Linked DNA regions of Homo sapiens: region 1 is linked to region 2. The links are contacts of gene promoters, found by promoter capture Hi-C in blood cells and fetal thymus (Javierre and others, 2016). All regions are on one chromosome and are shown on one strand. The core of a region is centred on a gene start or on the middle of the fragment in contact, and the rest is flanking DNA. Distances in the headings are between cores, read along the strand shown. Region 1 overlaps ZNRF1 (zinc and ring finger 1). Region 2 holds the start of GABARAPL2 (GABA type A receptor associated protein like 2).

The links. Contacts are between HindIII fragments. The CHiCAGO score rates a contact against its expected background, and 5 or more counts as called.
Region 1: a contact is called between a fragment that was not itself captured here and the fragment with the promoter of GABARAPL2 in region 2, in 1 of 17 cell types (monocytes). The highest score is 6.6, in monocytes.

Annotation. Positions count from the first base shown.
Region 1 is chr16:75,104,021-75,109,896 of GRCh38, reverse strand. ZNRF1 (zinc and ring finger 1) reads right to left here. Exons shown (of 5, transcript NM_032268.5): 3 at 5,008-5,113; 4 at 3,326-3,415; 5 at 1-2,164. The coding sequence ends at 3,358. Among named protein-coding and RNA genes, the nearest start is that of LDHD, 9.8 kb to the left of the region's middle. RefSeq lists enhancers at 608-687, 718-867, 2,062-2,231. The HindIII fragment of the contact is 2,439 bases long and covers 1,257-3,695 here.
Region 2 is chr16:75,562,218-75,567,680 of GRCh38, reverse strand. GABARAPL2 (GABA type A receptor associated protein like 2) reads right to left here and starts at 1,302. Exons shown (of 4, transcript NM_007285.7): 1 at 1,161-1,302; 2 at 774-829. The coding sequence starts at 1,194. RefSeq lists an enhancer at 87-840 and a silencer at 830-1,239. The HindIII fragment of the contact is 5,212 bases long and covers 1-5,108 here.

The DNA.
Region 1 (5,876 bases), core at 1,227-3,726, 460 kb after region 2:
AGACACAGTTGCCAGGCAGAAGCAGGAGGTGCTGTGAATAGAACAGTGCCCTTTGTGGTGACAAAGCTATGGGGAGCCTGCTGTGCATGTGCCAAGACCTGCAGGGCAGCTCCCCCAGCCCCCACAGGGACCTCTGAGCTGCATGGTTTTGTCCCCGCTTCACATGTGAAATATCTGAAGTTCAGATGAAGTCGTTTCCCCAAGATCATTCTGCCAAGTAGGAGAGCCTGAATGCACAGTCTAGAGCCCACGTTCCTGCCACCGACTCACAACAGCCCCAAGGTCTTCACCCCAGACGGGTCCCGCGCTGAGACCCAGGCTCTGAACCACCGAGTCTTCTTTAGTGTTTCTCCGCTGGCCCTGGCTCACGTTTGCCCACTGGCCTGTTGTGAATGCCCTTGCACAGAGTAGGTGCTTCTGGAAGCATCTGATGGAGGGTGACTGCGGAGCCAGGGGCCGTGGCAGCAGGGGGATGGTCCAGCACATCAGGCGGGCCTGAGAAGGGTCAGAGCAGAGAGGCGGTGGAGTCGTCTCCCTCTAGAGCTTTCCTTCGCTGGCTCTGCAGGAGGCTCTGGAATGCTGCTCCGGGAGCCCGCTGGGCACGGGGACACAGGCCAGGCCTGCACTGCTGCTCCCTGCCCCGAGCTGCCTGCCCAGCCCGCATTTTGCCAACTTTTGTGAGCCTGAGCAGTTGGTTCTGGTTCAAGGGCTCTGAGCTGGCACAGCCCCAAACCAGGGCCTCTTCCTGGGCCTCAATGAAGCATGCCCGTGAGTCAGCACTGAGACGCAAACTGAACAACAGGCAGGGCGAGTGGAACGTGGGATGGGGAGCAAAGGCTGGAAGGAGGGGGGCTGGGCCCACACCTGGAAGAACCCACATCCTTGCAGCCTCCGGTGGCTGCAACATCTTGGCCCCTGCAGATCTTTTCAGAGGTCCAGCACAATGACTCCACAGAGGGCTGACTGGTTCCATGATGCTTAAGAGGTTAGGAAGCTTGTAGGAGGCACGCCTGACTTGCCACTCCCTCCACCCAGGCCTGACTATCTGAGGACCAATTCACACACCTGGAGCCCCGAGTAGCAGCCTGAAGGAATGCTAAGGAGGTAGGTGAGGGAGTGGGGGGCAGGCCCTTGCCCCCATTTCTTGATTGTATAACACTTCATTAAAATAAAATCACGCAGTGCCATCTTTTATTAGACATTTTAATACCATATCAAAACACCTTGACTAATGAAGAAAGCTTTTCTCCCAAGCTTTGAACATTTTTTTAAACATTTTATAAGTTTTTTTTTGTATTTTAATATATAAATACAGAAACCTATCTTGCATGGGCTGATGCCACGTGTGAACATCAATGGCTAAAATGTTCTCAAACATAGTGCCTGAAAACAGGGGTAGCTGTACATATTTCTTAGTAAGTCTTTTTTTGTTTAAGTTTTCTGAAAAAAAAAATCCACGAGGGCCTAAGAATAATGTTCAGGCATTTTTGCAGGACACTTGTGATTGTTAAATCCTCTGAACTGACCGGAACCAGGAGGAAAGAAGGGAAAAGAGATGGGATCAGTAGGAAGAAAGTTCTCAATGGGTTGTTTTTTGGCAATGAAGTCAAGATATTAGGGTCTCAAGGGGAGAAAAGAGCAAAAAACCAGCCAGAAAAATAGAGGGAAAAAACCAAACAAACCCAAAGTAGAGAAGTTGGTGGTGGAGAGGGCCAGTTGGGGCAGGGGAAGAGACCGTGTGCTCGCCCGCCGTCAGAAGGCTGGCAGCGAGGCCTTAGCTGTGTTCGTCTGTCACTGAGTGGGTTATGGCTGGGCAGCAAACAGCAAGCTGTAAACATCACGAGGGAAAACACCAGTCGACACTAGACTTTTTTTTTATATAATTTTTTTTTGTAAACACTTTAAAGACAGACCCACAATGCCTTTCAAAGATGAAAAAGAAAATGCCCTTTCCCTCCTGGGCTGAGGGGTGAGGGGAAGGATAGCAGTTGATTCATTCTTCTCTCAAACTTGCTCTCATCCAATTTGGTGTCCTCAGGGAGGAAGGGAGAACCATGATCTGGAAGTCAGTGCAGAAGGGGTGCCCTGTTCCCGCTGGTGTCCCAAGCTCAGCTCTGCCCCAGGGTCCGGTGAGCCTCCTCCCTGGAGCAGGGGCGCTCTGTCCCTGTGTGGACCGTAATAAATAAGTCGTGCTCCATCGGGCCGAGGGCTGTCTGCTCATCCCAGGGCAGCTGCATCCCAAGAGGGCAGGCGGGGCTGGGGCGTCTACACAGGACCCCAGAAGCCAAACAGCACACGGGGAATTTGCAGCCATGTGCCTGGGCAGGTTCTACTCCCCTGCCTCACTCTCCCCCCTGGCTCTTTCTTCTCCCCTTGTCATCAGTTTTTGAGGTGGAGGTAAAAAGAGCAAATGTCCCTGATTTGTCTGACATCATCAGCTGTTCTGGGAGTTTACTTGGAATAAATAAAATAAACCTAACAAAAGAAAACGAAAGCAAGAGAGAGAGAAAGGGAGGGGGGAAGAAAAAGGTCCCAAAACCTTTGGCTGTGAGATGGAGTTGGGCTTTTGGTTTTTATGGGGGTTTTGTCTACTTGTTTGCCAGAAAAAGGAAAATGCCAGCCCAGAACTTGGAGGGGACAGGTGAGATGGGGGTCAGGGGTGGATGGTTGGCAGCAAGTGGGGTACCCCTGGGGGAGAAATGGGGAGGCCAGACCCAGCGGTAAGCCAGGGGGATGTGTGGAGTCAGCACCCAGTGCTGTGGGATAGAGGGATCGAGTCTGGCCTGGAGGCCTCAGATTCATCTGGAAGCGGCATGGGAAGAAGCAGTGGTCAAATGATCGCTGACCAGCACTTTGCAGGGAACAATGCACTGCCCATGGCTGTTTAGTAAGTGCAATGTCCTTATGGCAACAGGGAGTGAGATTATCCCCGTTACCATAGAAGAGGCGGAGACTCAGAGGTGAGCGAGGATGAGGCCAAGCCAGGCACAAACCCACCGCTCAGGCTCCTTTTCCTGCCCGTGCACATTCCCAGGGGATATTCCTGAACTTTCTTTAGGAATGTAGATTGTACTGGTCTCTTCCCCAACTGATCCTAACTCTTCTGAGCCTGTTCTTCATAACTGTCCATGTTGGTTTGTATCTCTTGTCCTTCCCAGGGAAAATCATTTCCGGATGACTAACTGCTCACTGATGAGGTGCTCCTTCCCTCTGCTCCTGCTTTCTTCTCAGTGGCATAAGGGCAGCCCGGCTCCCTAAACTGCAGGCCCCCAAAGTGACCTGACCCCAAGCCTTGAGCCCGGAGCACCCCCAAACGCGGGCTCACCTTTGAGAGGAGTCAGCAAGCAAGCCCGCAGGTCAGTCCGCAGGGTGTTCCGGACAAGATCTGTTCACTTCAAACCACGAGTCTATGCAGCTGGGAGGAGGGGGCCGCAAGGGAAACCACGTTACCTGCTGCCCAGGCTGCTTTGAAGGGGCTCTTTCAGAGGGCCAGATTCCTGAGCAGGAGCTTCCTAAGTCTCTTCTGAAAGGACCCCAGGGAAACACAGTCATGTCCCCAGATATCCCTACTTTCTGAAGCACGAAGAAGGGTGAACACCAAGACTAGTCTTGGCCCAGGTGGAGGCAGCAGTACCGGCTCAGGGGGATCTGGTGCTGCAGGAAGGGGCAGAGTGGCTTTCAGAAGGACCAAAGCTTTCTGTGCAGAGCCCAGGAGAATGGCAGCAGCCACCAGTGAGAAGGTGAGAGCGGTGGACCCCTCAGGGCAGCTAGTCAGCTGTCTCCAAGACTCCCAAGGGCAGGGAAGTGGGAACAATGGCATGGCAGGAGGGCCACGGCTCTGGGTGCCACAGTCCTGAAAGAGCTCCTTCCTGGGTCAAAAGAACAGCTGTGAAGCTCCCTCCCAGTGGGTGACCTCTTAGGAGAGCCCCAAGCTCTACCCGGCTCAGCCATGATCAGCTGATCAGCAGCATCTAGTCCTTCCTGCAAGAGGCGGGAGGGGAGCCAGACAGTGAAGCCCTGCTCTCCAGTGTTTACAGAGAAAGGCTCTCTGCATCAAAGAGGGAACAGAGATTGCCCCAAGACAGCTTCCTGATTTGTAAACCAACATCTGGGCATTTTCAAAGACAGGAACCAGACAGATAATTGGCATAATTCTCCCCGAGGGCCAAAGATTTCCTTTTCTGGTTCTGGTTAGTGCCGCCCTGGGACACAAGCAAGGCTCCGTGCTGGGAGCTAGACCAAGAATCTCTCCCAGGCCAGCCTTAAGCCTCCTCTGCACCAGCCACACTGCGTGCCATGCCCGGTTGTCACCCTGTGCAGCAGTGGCCCTGAGAGTCAGGCTTTGAAAGGCCTGAGTGTCAGGAAGAAGCTCTGGGCTCGAGGATTCAACAGGTGCTGGCCCCAGGCAGCACAGTGTCCTGTCTTGGGCAAGAGGGTGCCTTCCTTCCAGCTGGAAACAAGGACGAGGCTCACACTGGAGTCCCAAGGCATATCTGGGCCCTGCTACTTTTAACTGTGCCCAGTGCTGTGGCCCCACAGGAAATGGCTCTTCCTGCCTCCCGGCCCTCTAGGGAGAAGGCCAGTGCAAGGCAGTGGGTACACCCTCCGCCTGGCCTTCCTCGCACAGATTGATGTTCTACCCCTGTGGAGCAGAGGGACCCGTAGAGGAAGAAGAGGCAGGGAGACAGACGGAGAACCAACCTTCCCAGTGGGATCCGAAGCTCCTCCAACCTGTGAGGCTCTACGGGTCTCCCCATCAGCTCCCACCACCTGAGCCCTCAAACCAGAGCACACCTCTGGCAACTCCACTCTGCTCTGCACTTGGGATGCTCGCACCTTCCCGCCGGCACAGTGGACACCTGTCTGATGGCCTCTGCCCTTACCCGCTCGGAGCCAGAGGTCGGGGGAGAGGTCATCCCATAACCAAAGGAGACAGAATGGCTGGAGATGGGGGTCCGCCCCTCTGGGAGGTGGGGTGCACTAAGCTACCTTGCCAACCCCTCCTACCTTTTGTGATAGATGCACAGGCAGGGCAGCCTGGCTATCGTGTCCCCCTGCAGCAGCTCCTCCAGGCAGATCACACACTCACCCGCGTCTTTAGTCAGCACATCATCTGCAAGGGGGACAGGGGAGAGTGCAGGAGGGTTAGTCACCAGTGGACAGGTGGCATGGGGCAAGCAAGGGCCTAGGAACTAGGGGACTGCTTAGCTGCCCCAAGCTGTGCCCGGCTCTGCAGGGGACACAGAACCCCAAGAGGGACGTTGACCTTAAGACTTTCACCGTGGAGATAATGCGTGGACATCACATGTTAATTACCCAAAGACAAAATGGGATTAATCTCAACATGTGATTAACCAAAAGCCTAGGTGACAGCGGACGAAAAAGGCTTGGAGAAGGGTAGACAGGAAGCAGGGGCAGCATGAGGCAAGCTGTTTCCCTCCACAGATGCTTTCCTAAACACACACGTAGCCAGTGTGCTGATGTCTGGTTTGGAAAAATATGGTAATGGGTAGAGTGGTAGGAGGCAAGAATGAGAGGAAGAAACAGGTCCCCAAGAAAATCCTTGTGCACGGAGGTTCACAGCAGCATTGTTCACAACAGCCCAAAGGTGGAAACAACCCAGTGTCTACAAACTGCGCAACGGATAAACAAAAGATGATGTATCCACACAATGGAATATTACTAAGCCAAGAAAAGGAAGAACCACCACATGCTAAAACATGGATAAACGTCAAAAATACTACACAAAGTAAAAGAAACCACCTATTGTATGAACCCATTTATATGAAATGTCCAGAATAGATACATCCATAGAGAGGGAAAGGAGATCAGTATTGGGGACAGAGGGATATGGGGAGTGACTGCTTAATGGGTAG
Region 2 (5,463 bases), core at 53-2,552:
ACACTACTGTGTTCCCAAGGAACACAGGAGACAAGAATGGATGGACTAATTGGAATGCCTGGAATTTTAGCCAGCCAAGAACCAAGTTCTTCATTTGGCCTGTTGCTCCTCTCTGAACAAGTTTCAAATCCGTCCCTCCTACTCCTTTCCCCAGACAAATTATTCACAAGCAAAGAGCTACAATAACAGGCCTTAATGTCCATTAAAAATTAATAACGATTACAAAACTATCTCCCCAACCATGGAAGAAATATAACATTATATTTATTATTGACTAAGAAGAAAATATGGCAGAAGGGGTTTTCAGCGGCTTTTCACATTATTTTGGTCAGGCAAGGATGACAGGGTCAAGGTGAGATAACGGAGCTAGAAGTTAGGTAAAGATGGAGACAAAGTAAAAGATGAACGTCCTGAGACTCAAGTACCACTTCCAAGACCAAAATGACAGTCTCCCTCCACCACCATTCCCAAAAGTGGCAGTGACCTGTTGCCCTGTCCTAGAACATCGTTCCTTACATAATTGGCCAGGGAGCCCCGAGGCTGCAGACGGCTCGCTGGCCTAGATCGGGAGATTCAGCACTGAGGCACCCTGAACAGCACCAGCCCGAGCCCCTCACGCCCCGGCCCTGGGCGGCCTCATCCCGGTCTGGCCCGTCAGCTACTGTAACTGGGACTGGAACCTCAACTTGTCAACTGTTGAATGGCCTGGGGCCTATCACGGGTCCCAGACGACAGAGGTGACAGCGAGGTGAGGGGGCGGAGAGTCCACTCACCGGAACCCTGTCGGGATATTTCGCTCGAATCTTCGCGGACTCCACGCATCTGTGTTCTGTGGGAGAAACAAACGGGGCTGACGGCCGCGCCTGCCCACCGGTCGGTTCCCGGCCCCCGGCCCTCCTCCTCCTGCGCCCTGCGTACAACCCAGGCCCTGGTTCCGGCGTCCCCGGGGCCGCGGTCCTGTCCCCTACTAGCTCCCAGCAAGGCCCGCGGAGGGTGACATGGGGTCAGGGGGCCGCTGCCCGAGGCACCAGGGCATGGGCGACTCCAGCCCGCAGCAGGGCATCCGCCCCGCTCCACTCGGCCCAGGGCCGCCCGAGTGGGGGAGGGGGCCCACCCGCCGCCCCAGCCCCCAGCAGCCGGGCCGACGACCAAGTGCTTACCCAGCGAGTGGTCCTCCTTGAACATCCACTTCATGGCGGCGGCGGGAAGGGGACGGAACCGGCTCGCGGAGCCGCGGAGCTCAGCGCACCGAGCACAACAACAACGACGGCGGCAGCGGCAGCGGCAGCGACGGCGGCGACTACACGGCAGGCGGGACTTCCGGCTGTCGGAGCCTAGCAACCGGCCGGGGGCGGGGCTTCCGGCGCCATTTGTCAGGGCGCCACGCCAAGGGGCGGGGCCGCACGTAAAGGGGCGGGGCCGCGGAGGACCCCTTTGGGGGCTCCTGGGCTGCGGTGGCGAAGAAGTTGGTTATGGGGACGTCTGTGAGCAGTATCTGCGACATTGCTCGCAGGAATGTTCGGGGAACTGGTGACAGGAGTGGGGTCTCGGGAGCGTTGGTGGCGGAAAACGTCTGGCTGATAGTGTAGGGCTCTTACTGAGGGCTGTTTGGGGGTGTGGCTGATAGCTGAGGGCTCTTAGAGCGGTTCATAGGGGAAGTCTGGGGAATTGGTGACAAGAACGGTCTTTAGGGGTAAGAATGACATAAGGAGGGCTTTCTAGAGCTTGGCGATAACAAGGGAGCTGTTTAGGGCGTTGACAGTTTGGGGAGTATTGCTCGGAGTGGTGACAGGTTGGGGGCTCATTATGGGAGGGGAGGGTGTTTGAGGACACTGTTGGAAGCGGCACTGAGGACAACCCGGAGGTCCGTATTAGGGACAGCCGTAGTAGGTTGTCTTGGACCTAGAAATTGAATTTAAACAAATCCCGTTTTCTTCCTTTATTCGTGAATAAATATTTGAATAAACATTTACGAAAAGGTATCACAAATGCACATTTGAGGCGGGGTACGGTGGCTCACGCCTGTAATCCCAACACTTTGGGAGGCCGACGCGGGTGGATCACCTGAGGTCAGGAGTTGAAGACCAGCCTGGCCAACATGGTGAAACCCCGTCTCTACTAAAAATACAAAAATTAGCCAGGCATGGTAGTGGGCGCCTGTAGTCCCAGCTCCTCGGGAGGCTGAGGCAGGAGAATCGTTTGAACCAGGGAGGTGGAGGTGGCAGTGAGCCGAGATCACACCACTGCACTCCAGCCTGGGCAACAGAGCAAGACTCCGCCTCAAAAAAAAATGCACATTTGAGGAGTGTAACATCACTGATCACAGACCCCTTAATTTTAACTGGCAGAGGAGTTAGAGGTGACTGTCAGACTCGGAGAATTCCCCTGAGAGCTGGTCATGAGATGGGTTTCCTTATTTGGCTGTGGGAGTGGTTTAGCAATCACAGCCTGAGCTGTGTGTGTGTCACCTGCCCGGACATATGCTTTGAGGTTCTCCAATCAGTGATGTAATGCCTTTTTTCCAAGCAGACTCATCAAGGCAGTCTGGTCTGGGTCACCATCTGTTTATAAGCTGCTGAACATGTAGCAGGAATATTCACTTAATTGGGCACATGAACCCTGCCACGTGCTTGTGATTCTGATGCACCTGTAAAGCCTGTATGTTTGAATGTGGTAGTTCATCATTTCCTACACTGGAAATTCCTGATCGATGCTGTGGAATCTAGCTTCATTCTATAAGTATTTTTGTTATTTTAAGACTGTGTGTCTGAGTAACTAGAATAGGTTTTTTTGTTTCTTTGTTTTTGTTTTTGTTTTTTGGAGACAGGGTCTTTCTCTGTCACCCAGGCTGGAGTTCAGTGGCACAATCTTGGCTTACTGCAGTCTGCCTCCTGGGTTCAAGCGATTCTGCTGCCTCAGCCTCCTGAGTAGCTGGGACTACAGGGACACACCACCACACCCAGCTAATTTTTGTATTTTTGGTAGAGATGGGGTTTTGTCATGTTCGCCAGGCTGGTCTTGAACTTCTCACCTCAAGTAAGTGATTTGCCCGCCTCGGCCTCCCAAAGTGCTAGGATTACAGGTGTGAGCCACTGCATCTGTTTGTTTGTTTTTAATGAAGTGGAAAAAATCCTTTGAATTTCCTACTTAGAAATTATTGTTACATACAAGAGCTCTGTGCTAGGTGCTGGGGAAAAACAGTGAAGAAGACAGATGACATCCCTATTCTCATGGGTGGCAGCATGAGATATTCTTGTCCCCCTGACATATTCTAGTGGGATAAGACAAAAAATAAGTATGTTAGGTAATGATAGGTGCTATTTCGAAAAATAAAGCACAGTAGGTGACTAGAGAGTGTGGTGGGATGGAATGCTAATTAGATAAAGTGCCTGGCATATTCTAGGGAACCCCTGTGGCTGGAGCTGAATAAATGAGAGAGGAGAGTGTGTTATGAGACAAATTCAAAGATATCTAGAACAAAACTGTGTTGAGCTTTGAATTCCATGCAAAGAGCTTTGGATTTTATTTAGAATGAGATGAGAAGTCAGTGTAGGGGTTTAAGCAGAGACGTAACACAATCTGCCTTTCCTTTTCAAAAGGCTAGCTTAGTAGACTGTAGGCGCTGAGGGTGGAAGCAGGGAAATAGTTGAGACACTATTGTGATAATCCTGGTGAAAGATGATGTTGGCTTTGGCCAAGGTGGGGTCTACAGAGGTGATGGGAAGCAGTTGTATTCTGGATATATTTCGAAGGTAAAACTGGTAACAGTTGCTGATAGATTGGATGTAAGACATGAGGGACAGATCAAAATCAAGGTTTTTGGAAGGATGGAATTGCCATTTACTGAAATAGGGTGGAGCCAGCTTGGGGAGTGAAAAACAAGAGTTTGGTTTTTGAGATATTAAATATGAGATGTCCAAGGGACATACACAAGTGAAGATGTAGAGTTGGTGAATGGTGCTATGAGTCTCAAATTTAGAGAGAAATATTTCAAGCTATTAAACTGGGTAAGATTAGGTAGACAGTGAGTTTAAAAATGAAAATACTTGGCCGGGTGCAGTGGCATATGCCTGTAATCCCAGCACTTTGGGAGGCCGAGGCAGGTGGATCACCTGAAGTCAGGAGTTCATGACCAGCCTGACTAACGTGTTGAAACCCCGTCTCTGCTAAATACAAAACAATTAGCCAGGTATGGTGGCACATGCCTGTAATCGCAGCTACTTGGGAGGCTGAGACAGGAGAATTGCTTTTACTTAGGAGGCAGAGGTTGCAGTGAGCTGAGATCGCGCCACTCCACTCCAGCCTGGGCAACAAGAGCGAAACTCCGTCTCAAAAAAAGAAAATACCTATTTTACAAATAGAATTAAACACTGAAGAATGAAGATGGTTGTTCACCATCTCCTAGTCAGTGAACCAGTGGAGGAGTTAGAAATTGGACTCAACACCCCTGCTTCCCTTTACAGAGCTGGTCATTGCATCCTAGTCCAAAATATATGTATATTGTCTTGCATGTGAAAGAGCTGAGAACACTTCTTAGGGGAAAATTTCACTGCACACCAATTCATAGACATGTCTTTTGATGGTCTCAATGATGTGCAATGCATTTTGGTCTTCCATCCTTACCTACTTTCTTGGTGTGTTTTCCCAGTTCACCATTCTAATTGACTTATTTCATCCACCTTGATGATATGTACCACCTTCTTTACATATTGGGTCATTGTATTTAGCTATGGAATGTTCTAAGGACACTGGATGCCTTCCTTGAGGGAGTGGTTAGTTAAGGACGTAAGTCAGGAGGAGAAATAGGATAATGAATATATGCAACGTAATTACACATTAACAAATCTATAAAACACAGAGAATGAATTTCAAATGTTGGAGAGGTATGTGAACATGGATACTGAGGCATTGCTAGGGCAATAGGGGCCAGCACAAAGCCAAGTGAGAATTAGCAAGGAAGACTTCACAGAGAATGTGAATCTTCTGTTGTAGAGAGAAGGGTACATTTTCATTGGGTAAACTTTTCCTTTCCAGATAAAAACAAAGGCTGGGGTTGGAAGAGGGAACAGAAAAGCAGTATAGATAAGTAAATAAAATGTTGGAAAGCTTTGAAGCAAACATTCAGAAGTTCTAACCTAATTCAGGAGACCCTGAATAAGAGCTCCTATAAAGGAGAGAAGAACATGATTAAAATGTGCAATTTGGGGCTGGGTGCAGTGGCTCATGCCTGTAATCCCAGCACTCTGGGAGGCCGAGGCAGGTGGATCACCTCAGGCCAGGAGTTCTAGACCAGACTGGCCAACATGGTGAAACCCCGTCTTTACTGAAAATACAAAAATTAGCCAGGCATGGTGGCACGCACCTGTGGTCCCAGCTACTCAGGAGGCTGCAGGCATGAGAATCGCCTGAGCCCAGGAGGTGGAGGTTGCAGTGAGCCAAGATAGTGCCACTGCACTCCAGCCT